3 separate regions of the Homo sapiens genome follow, and all the other regions are linked to region 3. Evidence: promoter capture Hi-C in 16 types of primary human blood cells and fetal thymus (Javierre and others, 2016). All regions are on one chromosome and are shown on one strand. Each heading gives the region's core, a stretch centred on a gene start or on the middle of the fragment in contact. The rest is flanking DNA. Distances are from core to core; before and after follow the strand shown. Region 1 overlaps PKD2L2 (polycystin 2 like 2, transient receptor potential cation channel). Region 2 has its middle 55 kb from the start of MYOT. Region 3 holds the start of MYOT (myotilin).

The links. The method cuts DNA at HindIII sites, captures the fragments that hold promoters and counts their contacts. A CHiCAGO score of 5 or more calls a contact.
Region 1: a contact is called between a fragment that was not itself captured here and the fragment with the promoter of MYOT in region 3, in 1 of 17 cell types (naive B cells). The highest score is 5.1, in naive B cells.
Region 2: a contact is called between a fragment that was not itself captured here and the fragment with the promoter of MYOT in region 3, in 3 of 17 cell types (M1 macrophages, M2 macrophages and naive B cells). The highest score is 6.4, in M1 macrophages.

The regions. Positions count from the first base shown.
Region 1 is chr5:137,918,096-137,921,703 of GRCh38, forward strand. PKD2L2 (polycystin 2 like 2, transient receptor potential cation channel) reads left to right here. Exons shown (of 15, transcript NM_001300921.2): 9 at 3,541-3,608. Among named protein-coding and RNA genes, the nearest start is that of PKD2L2, 30 kb to the left of the region's middle. The HindIII fragment of the contact is 365 bases long and covers 1,360-1,724 here.
Region 2 is chr5:137,811,019-137,814,613 of GRCh38, forward strand. No RefSeq gene overlaps it. Among named protein-coding and RNA genes, the nearest start is that of MYOT, 55 kb to the right of the region's middle. The HindIII fragment of the contact is 208 bases long and covers 2,015-2,222 here.
Region 3 is chr5:137,866,135-137,869,406 of GRCh38, forward strand. MYOT (myotilin) reads left to right here and starts at 1,726. Exons shown (of 10, transcript NM_006790.3): 1 at 1,726-1,819. All of the region lies in intron 2 of PKD2L2-DT (PKD2L2 divergent transcript), which reads right to left. The HindIII fragment of the contact is 5,979 bases long and covers 619-3,272 here.

The DNA of each region.
Region 1 (3,608 bases), core at 292-2,791, 52 kb after region 3:
TCTAATAATGTGATAATTTTGAAAATCAGATTCTTCCCCTTGCCCAGGGTTTGCCATTTTTTGTTCTTATTTTTTATTTTTATAGTCTGGCTCCATGCCAAGGATCACCCTGAGTTGTGCACTTAAGGTCTTCTCAGGTTTTCCTCAGCCTATGCCTTTCCCTGGGCATGCACAATGACTTTTTAACTTACCCTTGATATGGAGTTGGTTTTGAATGTCCTATTCTTTAATGTCTGGATCCCAAAAAAGGAAAAGAGAAGAATAAAGTGAGAGGTAGGGGAAGATAACAGCCCTTTAAATCCCAAGGACATTACTTCAGCTGAAGGACGATGGTCTTGCAACAATGGAGGAGATGCAACAATGGCTGCCCACCTCAGTGTCTGCATCCCCACGATCAGAAGCAGCAATCAGCAATCACCACATAGATCCCCAATATTTGAAAGACATAGTATTTATTCCCCACATGGCTCCCATAAGCTACATGCAAGCTGCTTCACAAACATGTGCATGGATCCCAGCCATGAGGCTAATGAGTAGGGGATGCATAGCTATTGAGATAAAAGCTGAAATTGTCCAAAATTAACAGCAATTTACTGTCCAAGCCTTTCCCTGGAAGTTGCAGGCCTTCTTCAATAGACTCTAGAGTTCCAAAGTAGTACATCTGACAGATTCTGCCCATGTAATTGTTGTCTAGATGGGGACAGGGGAGAAATAAGTTTCCCATGGTTCTCTTCCACCTTCCAAGAATCTTTTTTTTTTTTTTTCCTGATCCAGACGAAATAGTTGAGAAACTGTGTTGCTGGCCATCTCTCAGGAAGGAGACAGAGGCAAGGTCCAGGGCCTGCACAATGTGTGTGTGTGTGTGTGTGTGTGAGTGTGTGTGTGTGTGTGTAGGGAGAGGACCATCTAGTCACCTTTCTATACATCAAGCAGGGAGCCTGAATTGCTACACCCTCAAGTTAAAGATGAATCTCTTGTAGTGACCCAATCAATGACTTCAAGAGAGAGACTGGAAAGTCTTATTAATGACAAATGGCATGTTCTTTTGAAACATACTTTTAGTTATTTTAATTCAATAAGGGAGAACTCTATCTAAAGTTAACAGGGCCATCAAAAAGTTACAAAACAGTATTTTCATTCAATATAACCCTGTATGTTGAGGCGTCATGGTGCTTTTAGCTTGCAAAAAAGAAACAAAATGGATAAACTAAGCTCTAATTAAGAAAAGAGACACTGTATTTGGAGCCTCCAGTTTCGATGAGATTCTAACCATTCAGTAAATGCTTCAGTTTTTGTCATTCTCCCTATTACAGAGCAGAAGTATCTTAACACTTTCCTAACAGAAAAGGGCTGAATGGAAGCTTTGGTTACTAAGCTAACATCTGGAGAGGAGAAAAGAATGAGAATGGTTCCTTCATCTTTTTTTTTTTCCCCAACTCAAAGATGAAAGATCATGGCAGAAACACTAAAACAGAACCTCTTATTCTCCTATGCCAGAAAAAATATTTGATTTGTGGTGAGACTTTCCACCAATTCCTTCCAATTCAGTATTTTCTCTATCTTATGTAGGAAAGCATTACAAACCAGTATTAAAAGCAAGATAAATACTTTAGGTATGATTTGGTCAGGTCTCAGCTAGGTACCGTGGATGGAATCTCAGATAACTCTGAGTCCTAGGACTTCATGTAGCCCATTTCTTTGAATGCTTTTTCTTCCTTCATTAAAGCTTTTTGCTCCTTTTATGTGATTGGCAAAAGCAATAAGGGACAAGCAGGCTTTCTCCCTTTTCACTGACCAATTACGCAGTTATCAACATACGATTAAACATTTGTTTCCACGCGCCTGTAATTCCAGCACTTTGGGAGCCCAAGGCGGGTGGATCACCTAAGGTCAGGAATTTGAGACCAACCTGGTCAACGTGGTGAAATCCTGTCTCTACTAAAAATACAAAAATTAGCCAGGCATGGTGGCATGTGCCTGTCATCCCAGCTACTCAAGAGAGGCTGATGAGGCAGGAGAATCGCTTGAACCGGGAAGATGGAGATTGCAGTGAGCCAAGATCCCACCACTGCACTCCAGTCTGCGTGATAAGAGTGAAACACCGTCTCAAAAAAAAATTTTTTTCCAAATTTCCTCATAAAGAACACACACACATAATTTAAACTGATATTCCTGATACGTCCAGTGAGACCACTGCAAGTTAATAATGAGAAAATAAAATAAGATTTTCAAGTTAGAAAATTCTAATTCTACTTGTTACTACTGTGCTACTCAAAGTCTTAATTTCTTCATTTTTCATCTTTAAAATTAGAAAAAGGAAGGTTTGAAATATTTTAAGTGGTATTTCATATCAAACCAGGCTATCAAAGAGGGTAAAATAGGGCCGGGCACAGTGGCTCATGCTTGTAATCCCAGCACTTTGGGAGGTTAAGGCAGGTGGATCATGAGGTCAGGAGTTCGAGACCAGCCTGGACAAGATGGTGAAACCCCATCTCTACTAAAAATACAAAAATTAGCTGGGCGTGGTGGCACACGCCTGTAGTCCCAGCTACTCAGGAGGCTGAGGCAGGAGAATTGCTTGAACCCGGGAGGCAGAGGTTGTGGTGAGCCGAGATCGTGCCATTGCACTCCAGCCTGGGCGACAAGAGCGAAACTCCATCTAAAAAAAAAAAAAAATCACAAAGAGGGTAAAATAAACCTTAGGATCATGTTGAGTATTATTATCAGCACTTGAGACTAGCAAGTGACAAATTGTTGGCATCCCTATTTTATCAGAATTTAAGAGTTGGTTAAGACAAAAATTCACTTCACTGACATTAGAAAGTTTAGGGCTCTTGGGTCTAAACCTTCTACAAGTTGAAAAATCACTTGTTGAACCAATTCAAAGTTCTAATGTTTAGAAGGGCACAGGCACAGCCGGCCAAGGAGGCCACTGCCAAAACCAGTTAGTAAACAGGTATCTCAGGTTCAAATGTTATAGGTGGGCTGGGTGTGGTGGCTCATGCCTGTAATCCCAGCACTTTGGGAGGCCGAGGTGGGCGGATCACTTGAGGCCAGGAGTTTGAGATCAGCCTGGCCAACATGGTGAGGCTGTCTCTACTAAAAATACAAAAAAAGTAGCTGGGCATGGTGGTGCACACCTGTAATCCCAGCTACTTGGGAGTCTGAGGCAGGAGTATTGCCTGAACCTGGAAGACAGAGGTTGCAGTGAGCCGAGATAGCACCACTGCACTCTAGCCTGGGCGACAGAGTTTGACTGTCTCAAAGAAAAAAAAAAAAAAGTTATAGATGAACACTGAGTTCACATTCATTAAAGCGGTCATTTCCTACATTACCTATTCAGCTATCGAGGTACCTTAAGTCTTTCCTTTAGGGGAATTTTCTACATCCAATTTTACACAACTCTGTACTAACATAATTAAAGTCAGAAAGCATATACCATATGCTGCTAGATATCCTCTTAGAGACATTAGTAACTCCCATCAGTTGTCATGTATGTACATAAAGGTATATATTTTCTACTGTTTTTCTTTCTTAAAGATTTGCACAATTTCGAATTGTTCTTGGAGATTTTAATTTTGCTGGTATTCAGCAAGCCAATCCTATCT
Region 2 (3,595 bases), core at 869-3,368, 55 kb before region 3:
AGGCCAGGCATGGTGGCTCACGCCTGTAATCCCAGCACTTTGGGAGGCCAAGGTGGGCAGATCCCTTGAGGTCAGGAGTTCGAGACCAGCCTGGCCAAAATGGTGAAACCCCATCTCTACTAAAAATACAAAAATTAGCCAGGTATGGTGGTGAGCACCTGTAATCCCAACTACTCAGGAGGCTGAGGCAGAAGAATCTCTTGAACTGAGGAGGCAGAGGTTGCAGTGAGTGGAGATCATGCCACTGAACTCCAGCCTGGGCAACAGAGAGAGATTCCATCTCAAAAACAAAAAGAAAAGAAAAGAAATATGATGCTAGTTGTCATTACTAAAATGATTCTGATCAAACAATTTGATGTGGTTTAGATGTGTGTCTCCTCCAAATCTCATGTTGGAAAGTGATACCCAGTGTTGAAGGTGGGGCCTGATGGGAGGTGTTGGATCATGGGGGCAGATCCCTTATGAATGGCTTAGTGCCACTGCCTTGGTGATGAGTGAGTTCTTGCTCTGTTAGTTCAGGTGAACTGGTTGTTTAAGGAGTCTGGCACCTCCTCCTCTCTCTTGCTTCCTCTCTTGCCATGTCATATGCCAGCTCCCCCTTCACCTTCCACTATGACTGTAAGCTTCTTGAGGCCTCACCAGAAGCTGAGCAGATGCTGGTGCTATGCCTATACAGCCTGTAGAACCATGGGCCAAATAAACCTCTTTTCTTTAAAAATTACCCAGCTTCAGGTATTCCTTTATAGCAACTCAGAACAAACTAACACACCACCAAAAGCAGGAAAGGGCATCAAATTCTAATATTCCTCCTTCCTCTCACCCACATACATATACCCAATCTCCTCTAATTCCGACTTCCACCCTGAACATGCAGAAGAGATCTCCTGTATATGACTAAATAGTATGGCATTCTTTCCTTGATAAGAGCAATTTCCTTCCATAAAGATGTTTTGTTTTTTCTTTTCAACTTTTCTTGAGCAAATGGTATAACTATCAATAATAGTCTTTCTTGTGTTTATTTTTACCTCAAAAAAGTAGTGAATTAAATGTATTTTTAATGCATGCCTTCACCTTTAAGGGGCTTACATTCTGACAGGTAGGCAAACACAAGTCTATAAGTAGCTACTTCGAGAAGAAGGTATAATGGAAACATAAACCAAGTATTGTGGGTAAAAGTCTTTTATATGAGAGGAAACATGGAAAGACTTCAGAAAATCAGCCTTTATTTCCTCTATTTTTGCAGTGTTTGTGGATAATTCATATCAATTTGGTCTATTGTTGAACAAGCTGGTATATGAAATAAGGTCTTACCTCCCTCTCTCCAGTTGCCAGATGAGCCTTTTAGGAGACTGGACTTTCTTTTTTTTTTTTTTTTTAATTATTATACTTTAAGTTTTAGGGTACATGTGCACATTGTGCAGGTTAGTTACATATGTATGTATACATGTGCCATGCTGGTGCGCTGCACCCACTAACTCGTCATCTAGCGAGCATTGGGAAGGGTATATCTCCCAATGCTATCCCTTCCCCCTCCCCCCACCCCACAGCAGTCCCCAGAGTGTGATGTTCCCCTTCCTGTGTCCATGTGATCTCACTGTTCAATTCCCACCTATGAGTGAGAATATGCGGTGTTTGGTTTTTTGTTCTTGCGATAGTTTACTGAGAATGATGATTTCCAATTTCATCCATGTCCCTACAAAGGACATGAACTCATCATTTTTTATGGCTGCATAGTATTCCATGGTGTATATGTGCCACATTTTCTTAATCCAGTCTATCATTGTTGGACATTTGGGTCGGTTCCAAGTCTTTGCTATTGTGAATAATGCCGCAATAAACATACGTGTGCATGTGTCTTTATAGCAGCATGATTTATAGTCCTTTGGGTGGAGACTGGACTTTCATGTTTGCCAGATAGTCCTGGAAACAGGTTCCCCTAACCAGCACTCCAAAAACCTCCTATCCCCCAACCTCAAATCATTTTGGATTGAGAATAATTTCTCATATCTTTAAAAGCTTCTAGAAAAGAAGACTATTAGTGGAATGAATAAGTGTTTATGCCCTAAAAGAATTAGTAAACTATCCTGAATATGTCTGTCCAGTAAACCAGAGCTGAATGAGAAAATGCTAAAACATTCTTGCAACAAGTCCCCTAAGTTTCTTCTCTGCCTGAACAGCATAGTTCATCAGCCTAATAAACAGAGTCAATCTCTCTTCCTGTAAGCTTTGTTTTTTGTAGAATAATAAATCAAGAAAAATATATTAAGCCCTTACTATATACTTAGCTCTGCATTTGGAATAGAAAAAGTACAAGACACAGCTTTAAAGAATTTACAACCAAGCTGAGGCTTTAAAGCATTTACAATATACCAGGGGAGTAATTCAATGTGTTGGTTTTGAAGTCTTTCCTTCTTTTTTTAATTTACTTTTTTAAATTACAGTATAGGTGACAAAAATTATATATATTTACAGTGAACAATGTGTTTTGATATATGGATAATGTTATGAAATGGTTAAATCAAGCTAATTAACATATCCATCATCTCACATACTTATCACTTTCTGTTGTGAGAACATTTAAGATCTACTCTCTTAGCAATTTTCAAGAATCCAATACATTGCTATTAACTGCAGTCACCATGATAGACAATAGATCTCTTGTACTCATTTCTTCTGTCTGAAATTTGGAAACTTTGACCAGTATCTCCCCAGTTCCACAACCACCCCTCAGCTCCTGGTAACCACCATTCTACTCTCTGTTTCTATGAGTTCGACTTTTTAAGATTCCACATAAAACTAAGATCATGTAGCATTTGTCTTTCTGTGCCCGGCTTATTTCACTTAGCATAATGTCCTCCAGGTTCATCTATACTGTTGCAAATGACAGGATTTCCTTCTTTTTAAAAGCCAAATAGTATACCATTGTATATATATCTGTGTATGTGTCTGTATGTGTGTCACATTTTTTCATTATCCATTCATCCATTGATGGACATTTAGGTTGATTCCATATCTTGGCTATTATGAATAATGCTGCAACGTACATGAGAGTACAGATATCTCCCTGATATGCTGATTTCAATTCCTTTGGATATATACCCACGAATGGTATTGCTGGAGCATATGGTAGTTCTAATTTTAATTTTTTGAGGAACCTCCATACTGTTTTCCATAATGGCTGTACTAATTTACATTCCCATCAACATGTACACAGGGGTTCCAAAGGCTTCTCTTCAGGCTAGGTTGAAAGCTGACTAAAGGAAAGTTAAGGGTAACTGAAGGCAGAGTTAATATCAAAGGAGGACTCAACTTACCTTTATACCCATAAGTGAGAATATATTGAGAGAAGAGGAAGCATCCTAGATGAAGGAAGAAGAGGGGAGTATTTCAAGACTGATTATTTCCAGGAATCCCTAAAATCCTTCCTGAAGCCACCCATGCAATAAATGTGATCATGCAATAAATTGAAGACAGAAGAAGAAGAATACTTCCGGTTGGATAAGGGAGGCAAGGCAGGTCTCTTTCTCCTGTTTCTGTGCCCAAATCAAGCTCCTTGTTGAGGCTGGGATAGTGTTTCCCCTGAGGGAATGAAAAG
Region 3 (3,272 bases), core at 476-2,975:
CCAAATGTCAGTCACATATACCACATTTAAAATTGCTTAGAATAGATAGGCTGGGCATGTGGTTTATGCCTATAATTCCAGTGCTTTGAGAAGCCGACGTGGAGGATCGCTTGAGGCAAGGAGTTTGAGACCAGCTTGGGCAACATAGCGAAACTCTGTCTGTCCAAAAAATTTTAAAATTAGCTGGGTATAGTGCTGCATGCCTATAGCCCTAGCTACTTGAAAGTCTGCAGAGGAAGGATCTCTTGAGCCCAGGAGTTTGAGGCTGCAGTGAGTTCTGATCATATCACTGCACTCCAGCCTGGGTGACAGAGTAAGACCCTGTCTCTAAAAAAAAACTAATAATAAAATAAAATGCTTGAAGGAGTGTCTTACTCATAATAAATGCTATATATTGGCTATTATTACTTTTATCCTATCACTTGCATTTGTATTTTAAGTCTCTCTAATTTAGATGGAAAGGTTTTGTCTGTATTACTGGAATTTGAAATATCAGTGAACAGATGTTGAAGAATATTTTGGGAGACTCCTGAAATAAGACTTTGTAGGCAACCACCTACTCACCAAGTCTAGCATGCTTTTTCTACTAAGGGCTGCACGCCCAGGCAGAAATTATCAAGCTTTCTTTGAACACCAAAGAAAGGTACACCTACTTGGCCAGCTGTGAAGGATTTTATATGGCTCATATGTGCTCAAACATCTATTTGCTGGATTCTAATATACATGTTAATTCAATCAAGATTGGGGTATCTACCCATGAGGGAGGGGAACTGAAGCCACCCCATGGAGATAATTCTACTCCCTTGGCCCAATCCTCATGCCACCTACCCTACTTCACCACATTTGCTGATTCGACATTTTATTCTTCTGCAATTATTTACTTCCCTGCACAAAAATGGAAATCTAAATACCATGATGGTCTCTGTGACAAAAAGTGAAAGGAAACTAACTGTTAGGAATAAAGGGAGATGAACATGCATTGACAGCTCTAATTATATAGATTGCTTATTTGTTTGGTTGTTTCTTAAGTGTTTCAAAACTCTTTCAGAATAAAAGTACTAGGCAAAAGGGGCATATGCCATACAGATTCAGAAAACTTGCTCAAGAAACACCATCATGTTTTTCCACCTCCCTACCTTCCCAGTGACATGTCACTATGACCTCGGTCTCCTGCTTTGCCCAGACTGCCCTCCACCTCGGAACAAACTGCTAGTACTGAGAGACCTCAAATCTATTATTGAATCCTACTCTCATTAGGCAAAAGAAAAAAGACTTCAGATGAAGAATTATGCAATACAAATCAATTGGGAGCCCATCTATCACTGGTCTTATTCCTGGAGAAGTCTTAGTATAATAGATAGAAGAACTCCACTCTTGAAATATTATTTTCCCTTTAGTCCTCTCTCTTAAACTGGGAAAATTCAAAGTCCCCACCATAATAAAGAAATAAGAGGGTTTTTTTTCTATTTTTCCCATTTCCCTATTCACTGCCCTTCCCTCACATGAGCTTGCTAAAGTTCATAGTCAAAATTCACGTCTGAAATAAAGAGGCTTGCAAAAGAAGCTCATGTAATCCCACTCCTTAAATACCACTAAGACACGTGAGATATTGTTTAGATTGTGGACTCTTACTTTGACATGCCAGCATAGGTAGATGGACAGGCAAGCACATCAGATGTCACTGTTTGGCAGCTGATAAAAGTCAGTGGTGCTATAATACTAAGCACAGAGCCACTAGATTAGTCTGTGAGGGAAGGAGATGCCTCTTCCTTCCCTTCAATAGTGGGTTAAACCCAGCTGGCACCCTCTGGAACTACGGGTAAGTCCCTTCTTTATTCCTACTACACTTTTAGGTCTTGTTTTTGTTTTTTGTCCAAATCAGATGAGTGTATACAAAGATGATTTTCAGATAAAAAGTTTGAAAGCCACAACATTATAATGGTATTACACAAAAATTTAAAGAGAAAGCGACTCATTCATTTCATTGAGACTGGAAGGCATTATACAAATGATAGAAGGAAAGATAGCTGTGTGTCATTATTTTTAAATCACCATTTTTCCTTGAAAAGGGACACTTGATCTGATGTAATTGTGGTGATGTCTTATGAACGCAACATATCCTCTATCAGTCTTCTGTGCAAGTCTATGCTATATTAGAGACAGGAAAAAAATGTTAAGATTTTTTAAAAAGGAGACTGAATAGTACTTTATTTATAAAAATCTTTGAAATTCATTTAACATTATTTGGAATAAAATGACCCTGTCATATAACAGAATCTATTATAGAATTAAATTGTTGAACAGTAACTACAAACATAAAGAAAATACAGGATCACCTGCGTAAATGTCTGCATAAAATTTTGACACATGGATAAAATGAAACTTATGAAATAACATATTTTTAATTGGGCTTTTAAAAATATCACTAATTATTAACAATGTAGGCCAATATCAACATGTACAAGACAGTTGCCATTCTGAAAATATATGTAAAGAAAAAAAGAGAACTGTTTCTGGAAAATATCTACTATTTCATAAGCGGTTTATTCCTTGCTATCTGAAATGAGTCTCAATAATGTACCTGCCCAGAAAGAAATTTAGGAATCAAACTCTGGATTCAATTCTGCAACAGACTGAATAAACCGATAACTACAAAACTACTTGCCTTGAAATAGACTTTTTTTTTAGATCTACTCAAGGCCCTCCTTCAGGATGTTTTTCCCCAACAATTTAAATGCCTAAAGTAGTTCATTTCTAAAATGCATTCTAGTTTAATGTATTTGTGTTCATAAACTTGAAATTAAGGAATATTTAACTTTTTAAGTATTCTTTCTCAATAGCGTCTTTCTCTTGGCTGTTTAGTTGCATTTCTGTTTTTTCCTAAAATTGCTAGTTTTAATTTAACTCTAAACTACATAGGCAACTTTGAAATACTATTTTTTGAAGGTATCCTATTATTTAGGATGAAACTCTTTGGTCTGGAAAAGTTTTATTAACATTTTATCCAAGACAGTAACTAAAATAATTAGAAGACTTCGTTTCAATGATGACAAACAATTTGGTTAATTTTTCAGTTAAAAGTTTGATTTGTCATTATCTCAGTATTGGCTTATACCAGATGAAACAAAATAGGCAAATGTATTTTGAATCAATTTATCTGATATTTTCAATGAAAACAGGATTAGTGTGAAAACAATTTATAGGACTAGTCTTTGTGTGTAATGTCTATATATAGTCCCGCTTAGGTTTACCATACTAATGGAAAAAAAATC